Linked DNA regions of Homo sapiens: regions 1, 2 and 4 are each linked to region 3. Evidence: promoter capture Hi-C in 16 types of primary human blood cells and fetal thymus (Javierre and others, 2016). All regions are on one chromosome and are shown on one strand. Each heading gives the region's core, a stretch centred on a gene start or on the middle of the fragment in contact. The rest is flanking DNA. Distances are from core to core; before and after follow the strand shown.

The links. Contacts are between HindIII fragments. The CHiCAGO score rates a contact against its expected background, and 5 or more counts as called.
Region 1: a fragment that was not itself captured here is called in contact with the fragment with the promoter of ZNF774 in region 3 in 1 of 17 cell types (monocytes); the score reaches 5.1 in monocytes.
Region 2: a contact is called between a fragment that was not itself captured here and the fragment with the promoter of ZNF774 in region 3, in 13 of 17 cell types (endothelial precursors, naive CD8 T cells, megakaryocytes and 10 more). The highest score is 12.5, in endothelial precursors.
Region 4: a fragment that was not itself captured here is called in contact with the fragment with the promoter of ZNF774 in region 3 in 1 of 17 cell types (endothelial precursors); the score reaches 6.3 in endothelial precursors.

What each region holds. Positions count from the first base shown.
Region 1 is chr15:90,550,955-90,554,172 of GRCh38, forward strand. All of the region lies in intron 2 of CRTC3 (CREB regulated transcription coactivator 3), which reads left to right. Among named protein-coding and RNA genes, the nearest start is that of CRTC3, 23 kb to the left of the region's middle. The HindIII fragment of the contact is 3,014 bases long and covers 1-2,989 here.
Region 2 is chr15:90,487,910-90,491,029 of GRCh38, forward strand. All of the region lies in intron 33 of IQGAP1 (IQ motif containing GTPase activating protein 1), which reads left to right. Among named protein-coding and RNA genes, the nearest start is that of CRTC3, 40 kb to the right of the region's middle. The HindIII fragment of the contact is 1,328 bases long and covers 777-2,104 here.
Region 3 is chr15:90,350,480-90,353,568 of GRCh38, forward strand. It overlaps ZNF774 (zinc finger protein 774), which reads left to right and starts at 1,805. Exons shown (of 4, transcript NM_001004309.3): 1 at 1,805-1,932. The HindIII fragment of the contact is 4,226 bases long and covers 1-3,089 here.
Region 4 is chr15:90,506,466-90,509,517 of GRCh38, forward strand. No RefSeq gene overlaps it. Among named protein-coding and RNA genes, the nearest start is that of CRTC3, 22 kb to the right of the region's middle. The HindIII fragment of the contact is 3,132 bases long and covers 49-3,052 here.

The DNA.
Region 1 (3,218 bases), core at 233-2,732, 200 kb after region 3:
CTGATTCTCATTAAATATTTTCAGGTTGTGTAGGGCAGAACAATGAGATGAACAAAGCACCGATCTGTCCTCTACTTCCTTTTTCTGAAAGGAAGAGGTGAAGTTTCTTCATGCCATCTGGACAGTGTTGGGGTTACATAATTAGACTCCTCCCGACTGAGTCTCCTTAGGTAAATCACAGAATTCTCTGACTCATCTAGAAGTGATGATAATGACGGTTACTTGATAGAGTTGTTCATAAGGATCTAATGAATGCGGAATAAATGCATATCTCTGGAAACTAAAGTACTAAGCAAAAGTCAGTAGTATAGTAATACAAATCGTGCTTAGGAACAATTGTGAAGTAGGAAGTTTGTCTTTATCACTTTCTACCTCTTTTTTTCTGTGCTTCTTACTGTCTCCCCCTCACCGCTGCTGTCCAATATGTTAGTCACTAGTCATTTGTGGCTATTTCCATTAATTAATTGTATTTAATTAAGATTAAATACAATTAAAAATTCAGTTCCTTGGTTGCATTAAGCCACATTTCAAGTGCTCAGGAGGCACATGTGGCTGGTGGCCACCGAACTGGACAGCACTGCCCCCTATTTTGAGAAGTGGGAGAGTTCTTGGAGGAGGTAGGCATTCTAATGCTGCGTTCTAGGTCCCAGTTTCAGCACCGGATTAAGTCCTCACCTTCCCTTAAGAGCCCAGGGCTTTAAGGTGATCTTCCCTTCCCTGCTCGTCTTTATCAGCCAATCAGATTTCTATGCCTTGGTTGAAGTGTTTCTTTTAGTGGTAAGCAAAGCACCCTGATTAAGTTCATATCAAAAACTTTGAACCTCCACTTAACTGCTCTGAGTACAAGCATTTCAAAAAAGGATGCCCCCAAAATCAGATCTCCGCTTGGTAGAATTTCTCACTGTAAAATGTGGCGGTTCCTCTGAAAGGGTGTGTGGTAAGGCGCGCCCTTACATTACATTACATTACACACACGCACACACACACACGCACACACACACACACACACACACAAATGTCTTCTAAAGGAACAGACTGACCCTGTGAAGGTGTTGGGTGTCGTGGTCTCCTGCTCCGTCCCTACTCCAAGAGTGGTGTTAACTACTTTTCTTTTTCACTCTTCATTAATTGATTAATAAATAATTGAATTGGCAAATGTTTCCCGAGCGCCTGCTGTGGCAGCAGGTCTGTATTAGGCACAGGACACATAGAAACGAAGAAATTGGCCCTTCCACAGAAGTCAGCAGCCCAGTTAGTCCTCGTTTAACACCATCAACTCTGTGTCCAGTACTGCGGCCCGAGCAGCCGGCATCTGGCCACTGCCCCTCGGTGAAGAAGGCTGCTCTGCCTTAAGCCACAAATGACCTTGGAATCTCAGAGACTATTCCAAAATGGTTCTGTCTTGAGTCACAGATCAGAGAGTCTCCACAGAGATCTCAAAGTAGCTTCTTGTGTCATCTAATGGTCTTCAGAAATTCTGTCTCTGTTTCTGTGGTCAGCTCCCAGCTGCTCATTATTCCTGATCACCCCTCATCTAGTTCTTTTGTCTCCTGGAGTATGGGCAGTGACTTGTGGAAACTCTGCTTCCTTTCGTACTCCCTAGGATGAGCTGTGGTGTGATAAAGATGACTCGGGCAGCAGGCAAACCTGGTTTGAGTCCTGGTTCTGCCACTCTTTTAATCTATGATTTGGGCATTTCCTCAACTATCTCAGTCTAGTTTTTTGTATGTGAAGTGGGGATTATAATAGTAATTATCCATAGGATAAACTGAGCTAAGGGGAGGCATGAGGCCTTGACCAAGGGGGTTTTGGAGCTGGATTGTGTTAAGGGAACTGGGGTGTAAAGAAAACTGATTCCTTCCCAAGCATCTAACTAAATTCTGATCATGTGTAGTCATTCTTCATAGTTTGTGGCATAGTTCTTTGCTCAGAACTTAAATGTGAGAGGGAATTTTGTTCCCAAGGTTATAATGTTATATTTTTTTCCCTTAGCCAGCCCTACTCTTGGTACAGCATGCTCTCTGCCAGCCCTGAGACAATCTGCTTTTATCCAAATACTGTTAGATGTAATGAGGCAGGGCAGTGACCTTGGGCTTCTGCATGAGATTTAGAAGGCCACATTTATAAATTATTTTAGCATGAATTATTTCCGGGAAAGATGTTCACTGATTACTAATATCATCTATTTTATGTTGTTTCTTATTTTCTTTTTCAGAGATTGACATTTTTCTGACCTTGTCTGAATTCTTTTTAAGAGTTCGTACCTCCTGAACTACATGCACTTTGCAACTCTGATTTTTGTACTGTGTCTGTGTGTGATGTGCTCACTGGTTTGCCTTTGATTTTGACTTCCAGCAGCATGTCCTTCTATTCTGCCTAAGGAAATAGTGAGAAGCACAGAGAGTTAGGGGGTTACTTAATAGTTTTGGAATGTGCATCTGTCCCGAAATAGGAGCTGTGACCAAGAATATGGTTGTCGTATTTTTAATCCATATTCGAATCATTTTTCCCTTCCTTTTTATCTAGCCGTACATGTTGAATAGAAGACTTATAGAATGAGAGAGAAAAGTAGATAACTCATGAATCTCTAATCATCTGGGATAAAGCCTTTGTTTGAAATTATAGAAGGGGCGGGGAAACGTTGGTCCCACACACTGAATTAGGAACATCTGTACCCATGAGAACTTGAGCAAGAGAACTGGAATATTGCCATTTTCATTCTGCCTCCTACGTGCTCTCAATTGTTCATGCAGTGGAGGGGCAGCAATAGCATGGATACTTGAGATCTTTAAAATACCCCTCCAAGTAATGTTTTAAAAGACTGAATCAGATTCCATTAATCGAAAATTTTCATGCCAGTAAAGTTGGAAGAGATGGGAATGTTTCCTGAGAAGTCTATCCATGGGATAAAACCAATGATCTACTTGAAAAGAAATACGACAAGTACTAAAGTGACAACATATACTTTGCCTTAAAATATTATGGCAGAAGCTTTAGGGCAGTACAGAGGCTGCATAGTGTGATGGGCAAAAGGGTCATACTCTGAATCCAAATGTGGCCTCTGCCACTTTCTAGCTGTGTGACCTTGGGCAAACCACTTAGCATGTCTTTGCCTCATTTTTCTCACCTGTAAAATGGGCATAGTTCTAATGCCAATATCAGAGTTTTGTGGAGAAGAATAAATGAGTTGTTATACATAACACCCTTAGAACAGTGGT
Region 2 (3,120 bases), core at 191-2,690, 140 kb after region 3:
GAAGTCCCTTATATAAAATGGTGTAGTATTTGGCCGGGCATGGTGGCTCATGCCTGTAATCCCAGCACTTTGGGAGGCTGAGGTGGGTAGTTCACGAGGTCAGGAGATTGTGACCATCCTGGCTAACACGTGAAACCCCGTCTCTACTAAAAATACAAAAAATTAGCCAGGCTAGGTGGTAGATGCCTGTAGTCCCAGCTACTTGGGAGGCTGAGGCAGGAGAATGGCATGTACCCAGGAGGCGGAGCCTGCATTGAGCCAAGATCGCACCACTGCACTCCAGCCTGGGCGACAGAGCGAGACTCCGTCTCAAAAAATAATAATAAATAAATAAATAAATAAATAAATAAATAAAATGTTGTAGTATTTGCATATACTTACGTTCTCCCATATACTTTAAATCATCTCTAGACTACTTATAATACCTACTACAATATAAATGCTGTGTAAATAGTTGTTACTGTATTTTTAAAATTTGTATTATTTTGTATTGTTGTATTTTTTTTTCAAACAGTTTCAGGGTTGGTTGAAACCATGAATGTGTAGGGTTCACTGCAATTTATTGAATATTATATATTTTGAATTCTGTTACATGCCTTGGTAGATAGAAGAAAAGTACAGAATGTGGCTCCTAAACTCAGTGAACCCATGGTCTTGTTGGGGAAATGTGACATATATACCTGAAACAGTGATGAACTGTTTCAAAATTAACTATGTTACTGACTGAAAAATAAGAGAAGTTTCAGGAAAGAGGCCAGTGAAGCAGTGCATTAGGAAGCTTCCTAAAAGAAGTGGAACCGGAGCCAGATGTATAAAGGTGGAAAGGATTTGGGTGTGCATGTAAGACAAGAGAGGGCATTCGAGGCAGGAGAGCGATGTGAACAAAGGTACAAAGGAGGGAAGAGCATGATGCGACTAGACTACATGTCTAGAATGGAGCTGTGGGTGGAGGTGAGTAGTGAGAAATAAAACATGAGACCAAATTATTTAGAACTCACAAACTAGATGGGAATTTGTCACTGCAGAGATAAGGAATAAAGAGCCTCTGTAAGGTTGAAGACCATTTAATAAAAGTTAATTAATTCAGCAGTGCTATTAGAGCAGATGTAGTTGAGTCATATAGGTGTGTGATAAGGTCCAGTGGGGTGGGCAGATGGTTGGGTCCTGGCATTTTGTAGGGTTGGATGAGTCATGTCATATCTAAGACCCTTGTTTCTTTTTTTTTTTTTTTTTTAATTTGAGACAGAGTCTCACTCTCACTCAGGCTGGACTGCAGTGGCGTGATCTTGGCTCACTGCAACCTCCGCCTCCTGGGTTCAAGCGATTCTCCTGCCTCAGCCTCCCGAGTAGCTGGACTACAGGTGTGAACCACCACACCTGGCTAATTTTTGTATTTTTAGTAGAGACAGGATTTCACGATGTTGGCCAGGCTGGTCTCAAACTCTTGACCTCAAATGACCCACCCACTGTGGCCTCTCAAAGTGCTGGGATTACAGGTGTGAGCCACTGCACCCGGCCATAGACCTCTGTTCTCATTTGTCAAGTAAGGAAAGTAGGTCAAGTCATTCATTCTCAAATTTTAAGCATGGTAATCTGTTTCATTAAATGACAACTTAGCTAAAAGCCCAGTATATAGAGCAGGTACTCTGCTACTCTGGAGCTACTCTGATAGCCAGCAATAGGGCATCTGAAATCCAGCCCTATAGGACTCTGTGATGCCTCTGGCAAACTCTTGAGGCTGCACAGAGAACTATTTGGAAACCATTGTTTTCAATGAAGTCTCAGCTGTCAGTTGCTATGACTGATTACTGATTAGATATGTGTGAAAGGCAAGTAAGGACATGTAAACCAATACTTGAAACATGTTGAACCTAGAAAGAAATTTGAAATAAGGAAGGAGGAGCCAGTCTTTATTGAGAACCTAGTATGTGTTTGGTGCTCTCACCTCTGTTCTTTAATTTAATCCTTACAATATTCCCATGAGTCGAGTCTTTTCATCCTTATTTTGCAGATGAGGAAACCAAGACCCTTACAGGTTAACTGGCTAAGATCATCAGCTTGCAGTGACAGAACCGGAGGTGGATCCAGTTCTGTCTGCCTCCAAAGCTTATGCTGTTTACATTATGTGATGCAGAGTAGTCTTGACATTAGAAAAAAGGGGACTATTGGGAAAGGGAATTGCTCCAGTTAGGGGGAATTACAAGTTTGAACTATGAGCCATCCCGAATGTAAACATCCCAGTACAAACAGCTCAGAATATGGCACCAGAGCCATGGTCACAAAGATTTAGGATCTGTCAACACAGAGGCAGTCAATGAAGTATTGAGAGTAAACAGAGAGAAATGGTCACAGATCACATAGAAGTACCAAACCATGCATAGAGCAAGAAGACAGTGCAGAGAAGATGAGCAAGGTGACAGAAAAGGCTTTGGATTTTGGACAGGGGAATGGTAATTGGTGATAAGAGCAGTAAAGAAGAAAGTGCTGAAAGAACGAAACAGTGAGTGTAGATCATATGTTGGACAGGGACAGACAATGGACGGTGACTATGAAGGATGGCGACTATGAAGGATGGCAGTATCAAGGGAAGGTGTTTCCCTGTTAGATTGTGGTGTCTGCAGAATGTTTGAAAGCAGAGGCAAGGCTCGAGCATGATTCCACCTTGTGACAAAGTGACACAAAGAATTAGCAAGGATTTACTAAGCACTGGTCTTGTTGTATTAGTATAGTTATAACATTTATACAGCTATGTTTTTAATAAAATTAAATGGCTTCCATGTCTCAAAATGTGGTAGAGAAAAATGACTTTGTAGCCAGTAGAGTCCAGTCTCGGTGATTGTACCTGGAGTCCAGGAAAGAAGCCCTAAGCACCTAAGCAGTTGTGTGATTTGTTTGTTTGCTTGTTTTTTGTTTTTTTGAGACGGAGTCTCGCTCTGTCGCCCAGACTGGAGTGCAGTGGCGCGATCTTGGCTCACTGCAAGCTCCACCTCCTGGGTTCACGCCATTCTCCTGCCTCAGCCTCCTGAGTAGCTGGGACTACAGGCACTCGCCCCATGCTCGGCTAATTTTGTTTTTGTACTTTTAGTAGAGACGGTTTCACCGTGTTAGTCAGGATGGTCT
Region 3 (3,089 bases), core at 555-3,054:
GAGTTTCCGAAAATGCAATGTAGTTACCTTGCAGATGACTATAATTGTGTAGCAAAATAACTAAGATGCCACTGGCTATATGGAAAAAAAAATTACTTAGGATTTTGATACCTTTTATGGTTTATTTCCCCTTTTGGCCTGTGAACTTCATGAAGGTAATGGTTATGTATGATTCCCGAGTAATCACAGTTCCCAGAACGATCTTTTTTTTTTTTCTTTCTTTTTTTCTTTTTTGAGACGGAGTCTTGCTCTGTCGCTCAGGATGGAGTCCAGTGGCGCGATCTCGGCTCACTGCAAGCTCCACCTCCCGGGTTCACATCATTCTCCTGCCTCAGCCTCCCGAGTAGCTGGGACTACAGGCGCCCGCCACCACGCCCGGCTAATTTTTTCTATATTTAGTAGAGACGGGGTTTCACCATGTTAGCCAGGATGGTCTCGATCTCCTGACCTCGTGATCCTCCCGCCTCGGCCTCCCAAAGTGCTGGGATTACAGGCGTGAGCCACCACGCCCTGCCCCCAGAACGATCTTGAGAACAGAATGTTCCCAATAAATATCCACTGGAAAATGCACCTTATTTTTGTTGAAGGAATGGTGGAATTAGCATCAAAGGGATCTTCAACATTAACTCGGGCCGGGCACGGTGGCTCACGCCTGTAATCCCAGCACTTTAGGAAGCCGAGGCGGGCGGATCACGAGGTCAGGAGATGGAGATCATCCTGGCTAACATGGTGAAACCCCGTCTCTACTAAAAATACAAAAAATTAGCCGGGTGTGGTGGCGGGCGCCTGTAGTCCCAGCTACTCGGGAGGCTAAGGCAGGAGAATGGTGTGAACCTGGGAGGCAGAACTCGCAGTGAGCCGAGATCGTGCCACTGCACTCTAGCCTGGGCGACAGAGCGAGACTCCGTCTAAAAAAAAAAAAAAAAAAAAACTCTATGGCTGGTAATTCTAAGCGTTTTATAATACATCACAAAATGTTCTTTTATTTTTCTAAATTGCACTGAATCAACAAACGGAGTAGACAGGCACATTTTCTTCACTTTAAGGAAAGACTTTGTTGTTTTTTAGCTAGGGGCCGACCCAAAGTGATCACTGGCTCTCACATGAGACCCAGGAGCCTCCCCAGTTTGAAGCCCGATATCACATTTCCCAGAATACTTGATGCCCTCGCCCGCCTCCTCTGGCTATCAACCAGACGGAAAGGGGATGTGCCTGGGAGTTTGATGCCAAGGGAAGGATGCGGAATGTCTGTTTTCTACTAAGGGCTTCTGCTGGGCCTTTCCAATGTCCAGTTTGAGTTGGTCTGGGACCTGGCCTCCGCAAACACCCTGCAGGCTCCGGCCGCCGGGGATGAGGTGGAAGACTGGGCAGAAGAGAGGCCGCAAAGGCCCGAGGGCTGAGCTGCTCTGCGCTGGGGAGGGGCGAAGTGCCAGAGCGCGGGAGACCTCATGGTGGGCACCAGGCTGCTCCGCGGTAGGTGGGTGAGGCCAGGAGATTCACATCTGCAGATGCCACAGTGAGGATACAGCATTTAGATCCCTCGGCTCCAAACAGGCGGTTCCGGGGGACCGGTAGCTGGGGAATTGGGTTTAGCACTTTCCAACGCTTGGAACTGGACATCCACGGCTCCGAGTCCTTTGAGGTCTTGCTCGGGACTACGTTTCCCAGAAGGCTAGGCGATAATTGACAGCTCTATCAGCCTATGGACAGAGAAAAATTCTAGCCATGGAAACTGAAAAGCCAATAGCAAGAGGATGGGGGCGGTACTTTCCGGCCGCTGGCTGTCGAAGCCGGAGTCCCACCTGTGTCCCCACAGCCCTGTCACGAATCCCGGTCGGGTTCTGGGAGGCACAGCCTCGGGGTTGCGGGCCGGGTGCGGCTCGGCGGTGGAGGACTCACTTCCTGCTCCATCCCCGGCTGGGCCCTGGGGCGGTGAGTGATTCAAGGAGGGAGACCGCGGCGGCAGCGGCGCGCTGCTGAGGGGCGTGGAGGGGGCTTGCCCGCCACCCAGACGTTTTCTCAGCGGGGTTCCCGCGCTGGCCTTTGGGAGCCCCCGGGTCTTGCTGGGCTGTGGGAGAGGTAGCTGTGGTCTCTATACCGTCGGCGGGATAAGTCATTCTCTTAATCAGTTTTCTTGCTTCTCGATGGTGGTCCCAGGGTTTCAGCTGATCTGTGACCCTCTGACCGCCGCACCCCGGTTAGGGCGCGAGCACCGAGAAGAAGAACGGGGTTCGGCCCCACGCGTGCAGTCATGTTCCTATTAATAAACCCGGTGAACGCACTGGAGCTTCTCACAGTGGCACTTAGTCACAGCCCCTCAGCGCTGTGGGGCCTTTGAGGTCACCTGTGCATGGGGAAAGGGACGGGCTGGGAAACAGGGTTTCTATAACCGTGGCTAAGACGTCTCCCCTCCTCAGTGGCGCTGTCTCCAGCAAGTGGGCCCTGCAGCTGTGTTTTGTAATGAATGTAGAAATAAAAATTATACTCAAAACTCTTTTTTTTTTTTAGACGGAATTTCGCTCTTGTTGCCCAGGCTGGAATGCAATGGCGCTATCTCCTTTCACTGCAGTCTCCACCTCCCGGGTTCAGGCGATTCTCCTGCCTCAGCCTCCCAAGTAGTTGGGATTACAGGCGTGTGCCACCACACCCGGCTAATTTTGTATTCTTAGTAGAGACAGGGTTTCACCATGTTGGCCAGGCTGATCTCGAACTCCTGACCCCAGGTGATCCGCCCGTCTCGTCTTCCCAAAGTGCTGGGATTACAGTCATGAGCCACAGCACCTGGCCAATACTGAAAACTCTTATTACAATTTTTACTTTCTAATTACATTATTGTTGTTTGTTAAAGTTTTAAACCAGAGAGATGGTTTTTAGATCCTTAAAAACTCAATACTTTATAAATGACCAATAATAATGTCTGTAAATACAAAAATATTTCCCCCAAAAGTGTGTGTGTGTGTGTGTGTGTGTGTGTGTGTGTGTGTGTGTTCCAGTAGTAAATAGGTGATTTGTAGTGGGACAAAAGATGTGAAAGAGTAAAACTTCTTCACCACAGTCTGGTCCTTCCTCCCTTGAAATGCAATATTCTT
Region 4 (3,052 bases), core at 365-2,864, 160 kb after region 3:
GCACCCATGTGTCCATCATGCAGCCCAGCAATTATCAACACACAGTTAAGCTTATTTCACCTGTACCTCTGCCCAAACCCTCTTGGGTTACTTTGACAAAACCCAGGTATAGTATCATTTCAACCATAAATACTGCAGTACATGTCTCTAACACAGTTTTTTTTTTTTTTAATCACAGAAGATATTTGGCTGTTTGGAAATATTTTTAATTGGCCTGACGAAAGAGGTGCTACTGGCATCTAGTGGGTAGAGGTGAGGGATGCCACTTGACATCTTTCAGTGCAACAGGACAGCCCACTGCAACCAAGAATGATCCAGCCTCAAATATTAATAATGCCTGGGGTGAGACGCTGCTCTTACAGATAAGGACTTAAAAAAAATCCCCATCCCATCATCACACCTAACAAATTATTTTAAAATATCAAATTATTTTAAAATATCACACCGTTTAAATATCACCATTTACATTTTTAATTTAAATTTTTAAATTTTAAAATATCACCGTTTAAATTTCCCCATTCATCTTATCATTGTTCAGTTTGTATTTTTGAATCAGGTGCCAGACAAGATCCATGCATTACATTTAGTTGATAGGTCTCTTAAATATCTTTTCCTTTTCTTTTTTTTTTTGAGACAGAATCTCACTCTGTTGCCCAGGCTGGAGGGCAGTGGCTTGATCTCAGCTCACTGCAACCTCAGCCTCCCAGGTTCAAGTGATTCTCCTGCCTCAGCCTCCCGAGTACCTGGGATTACAGGTGACTGCCACCACACCCGGCTAATTTTTTATTATTTTTAGTACAGACGGGGTTTTGCCATATTGGCCAAGCTGGTCTCAAATTCCTGACCTCAAATGATCCGCCTGCCTCGGCCTCCCAAAGTGCTGGGATTTTACAGGTGTGAGCCACCACGCCCGGCCATATATAATTTTTTGAATGCTCAAATTGTCCCCTCTTTGACCAATAAATTTCCTTCACAGTGACTGTTGAGTACTTTTGACGTGACCCTAGTAATCTTTGATAGTTTCCTTGATTTCTAGCATAAGACGTTCCAGGCTCATCTTATTGCATTTCTCAGCCCCAGACCTGGAATCCACCATTTTTCTGTGGAGCCCTGGTTACTGTTAGCGGGTAATGGTATTTCAAGGATGCAGTCTGGGTGGGTGCTAGGGGTGTTCCTCACCGTTAGATTGGTCATTGTGTCCTTTTTTTTTTTTTTTTTTTCTAGAGACAGGGTATCGTTCTGTCACCCAGGCTGGAGTTCAGTGGCGTGATCTTGGCCCACTGCTACTTCCACCTCTTGGGTTCAAGCAGTTTCTCTGCCTCAGACTCCTCAGTAGCTGGGATACAGGCATGTGCCGCCATGTCCAGCTAATTTTTGTATTTTTTAGTAGATATGGGGTTTCACTAAGTTGTCCAGGCTGATCTCAAACTCCTGACCTCAAGTGATCTCCCTGCCTCAGCCTCCCAAAGTGTTGGGTTTATGGGAGTGAGCCACCGCACCCAGCCTTTTTTTTTTTTTTCCTTGCAATGTATTTGATGCTAATCCTGTAGAATCACATTCTGGGTTTCTCATGTCATCCTGTGGATCAGACTCAGTTTCAATCTTGTGGCAAGAATACTTTGGTTTTCCTATTACATCATGTCAGGGCTTATGTTTTTATGATGTAAAGGCTGATCTTTGGATTCAGATGTTGCCAGCTTGACCCATTCATTATAATTTCCCATCGGCTTTCACCACGTATCACATGGATTCAGCAGCCACTGGTAATGGCTGCCTACATTTATTTATTTATTTATTTTACTTTTTTTTTTTTTTTTTTTTTTTTGAGACAAAGTCTTGCTCTGTTGCCAGGCTGGAGTGCAGTGGCATGAGCTCAGCTAAGAGGCAGGTTCAAGTGATCCTCCTGCCTCAGCCTCCTGAGTAGCTGGAACTACAGGCACGTGCCACCATGCCCAGCTAATTTTTTGTATTTTTATTAGAAACAGGGTTTCACCACATTGGCCAGGATGGTTTCAATCTCTTGACCTCATGATCCGCCCGACTTAGCCTCCCAAAGTGCTGGGATTACAGGCATAAGCCACTGCACCTGGCCTATTTTTTTTAGTATTTTTTCACTTTTTTTAGAGACGAAGTCTCACTATGTTGCCCAGGCTAGTCTCAGACTCCTGTGCTCAAGTGGTCCTCCTGCCTTGGCCTCCCAAGGTCCTGGGATTACAGGCGTGAACCACCATGCCCAGCCTCTTATTTCATTGGGGGTTGCAAAATGGTGATATGCTATTAATATCATTCCTTCTTTATTTAACAGAATTCTCCTTAAAAAAAAAAAAACTTCCTCTCTTCAACTATTTTGTTGCCTTGTAGAACATTCATTCAGGAACAGATGATGAGTGCTTGATTCTCTCCCTTTGTTTACTAGTTTTCAGAATAAGCTGCTTCCCTAGTGGGCTCTAAATGACCAGGGAGCCTTTGTTTTTCAAAAATCATAATGAACCCCTGGCTTTTTAATATATTCCATGTCTTTCAATCCACTGTATGTATATCGATATACATATTCATAAAAATTCTTTTTTTTCTTGAGATGGAGTCTCACTCTGTCTTCCAGGCTGGAGTACAATGGCACGATCTCAGCTCACTGCAACCTCTGCCTCCCAAGTTCAGGTGATTTCTCCTGCCTCAGCCACCCGAGTAACTGGGATACAGGCATGTGCCACCAAGCCCAGCTAATTTTGTATTTTTAGTAGAGATGGGGTTTCACCATGTTGGCCAGGCTGGTCTCAAACTCCTGACCTCAGATGATCTTGGGATTGCTGGGATTATAGCCGTGAGCCACTGCACCTGGCCTCTAGCTTTTTCTTCTTTTTTTAAATTTTTATTTATTTATTTATTTATTTATTTATTTATTTTTGAGACAGAGTTTCACTCTTGTTGCCCACAGCTGGAGTGCAATGGCACGATCTCGACTCACAGCAACCTCCACCTCCCGGGTTCAAGCAATCCCGAGTAGCTGGGATTACAGACATGCGCCATCACGGCCGGCTAATTTTTTTTTTTT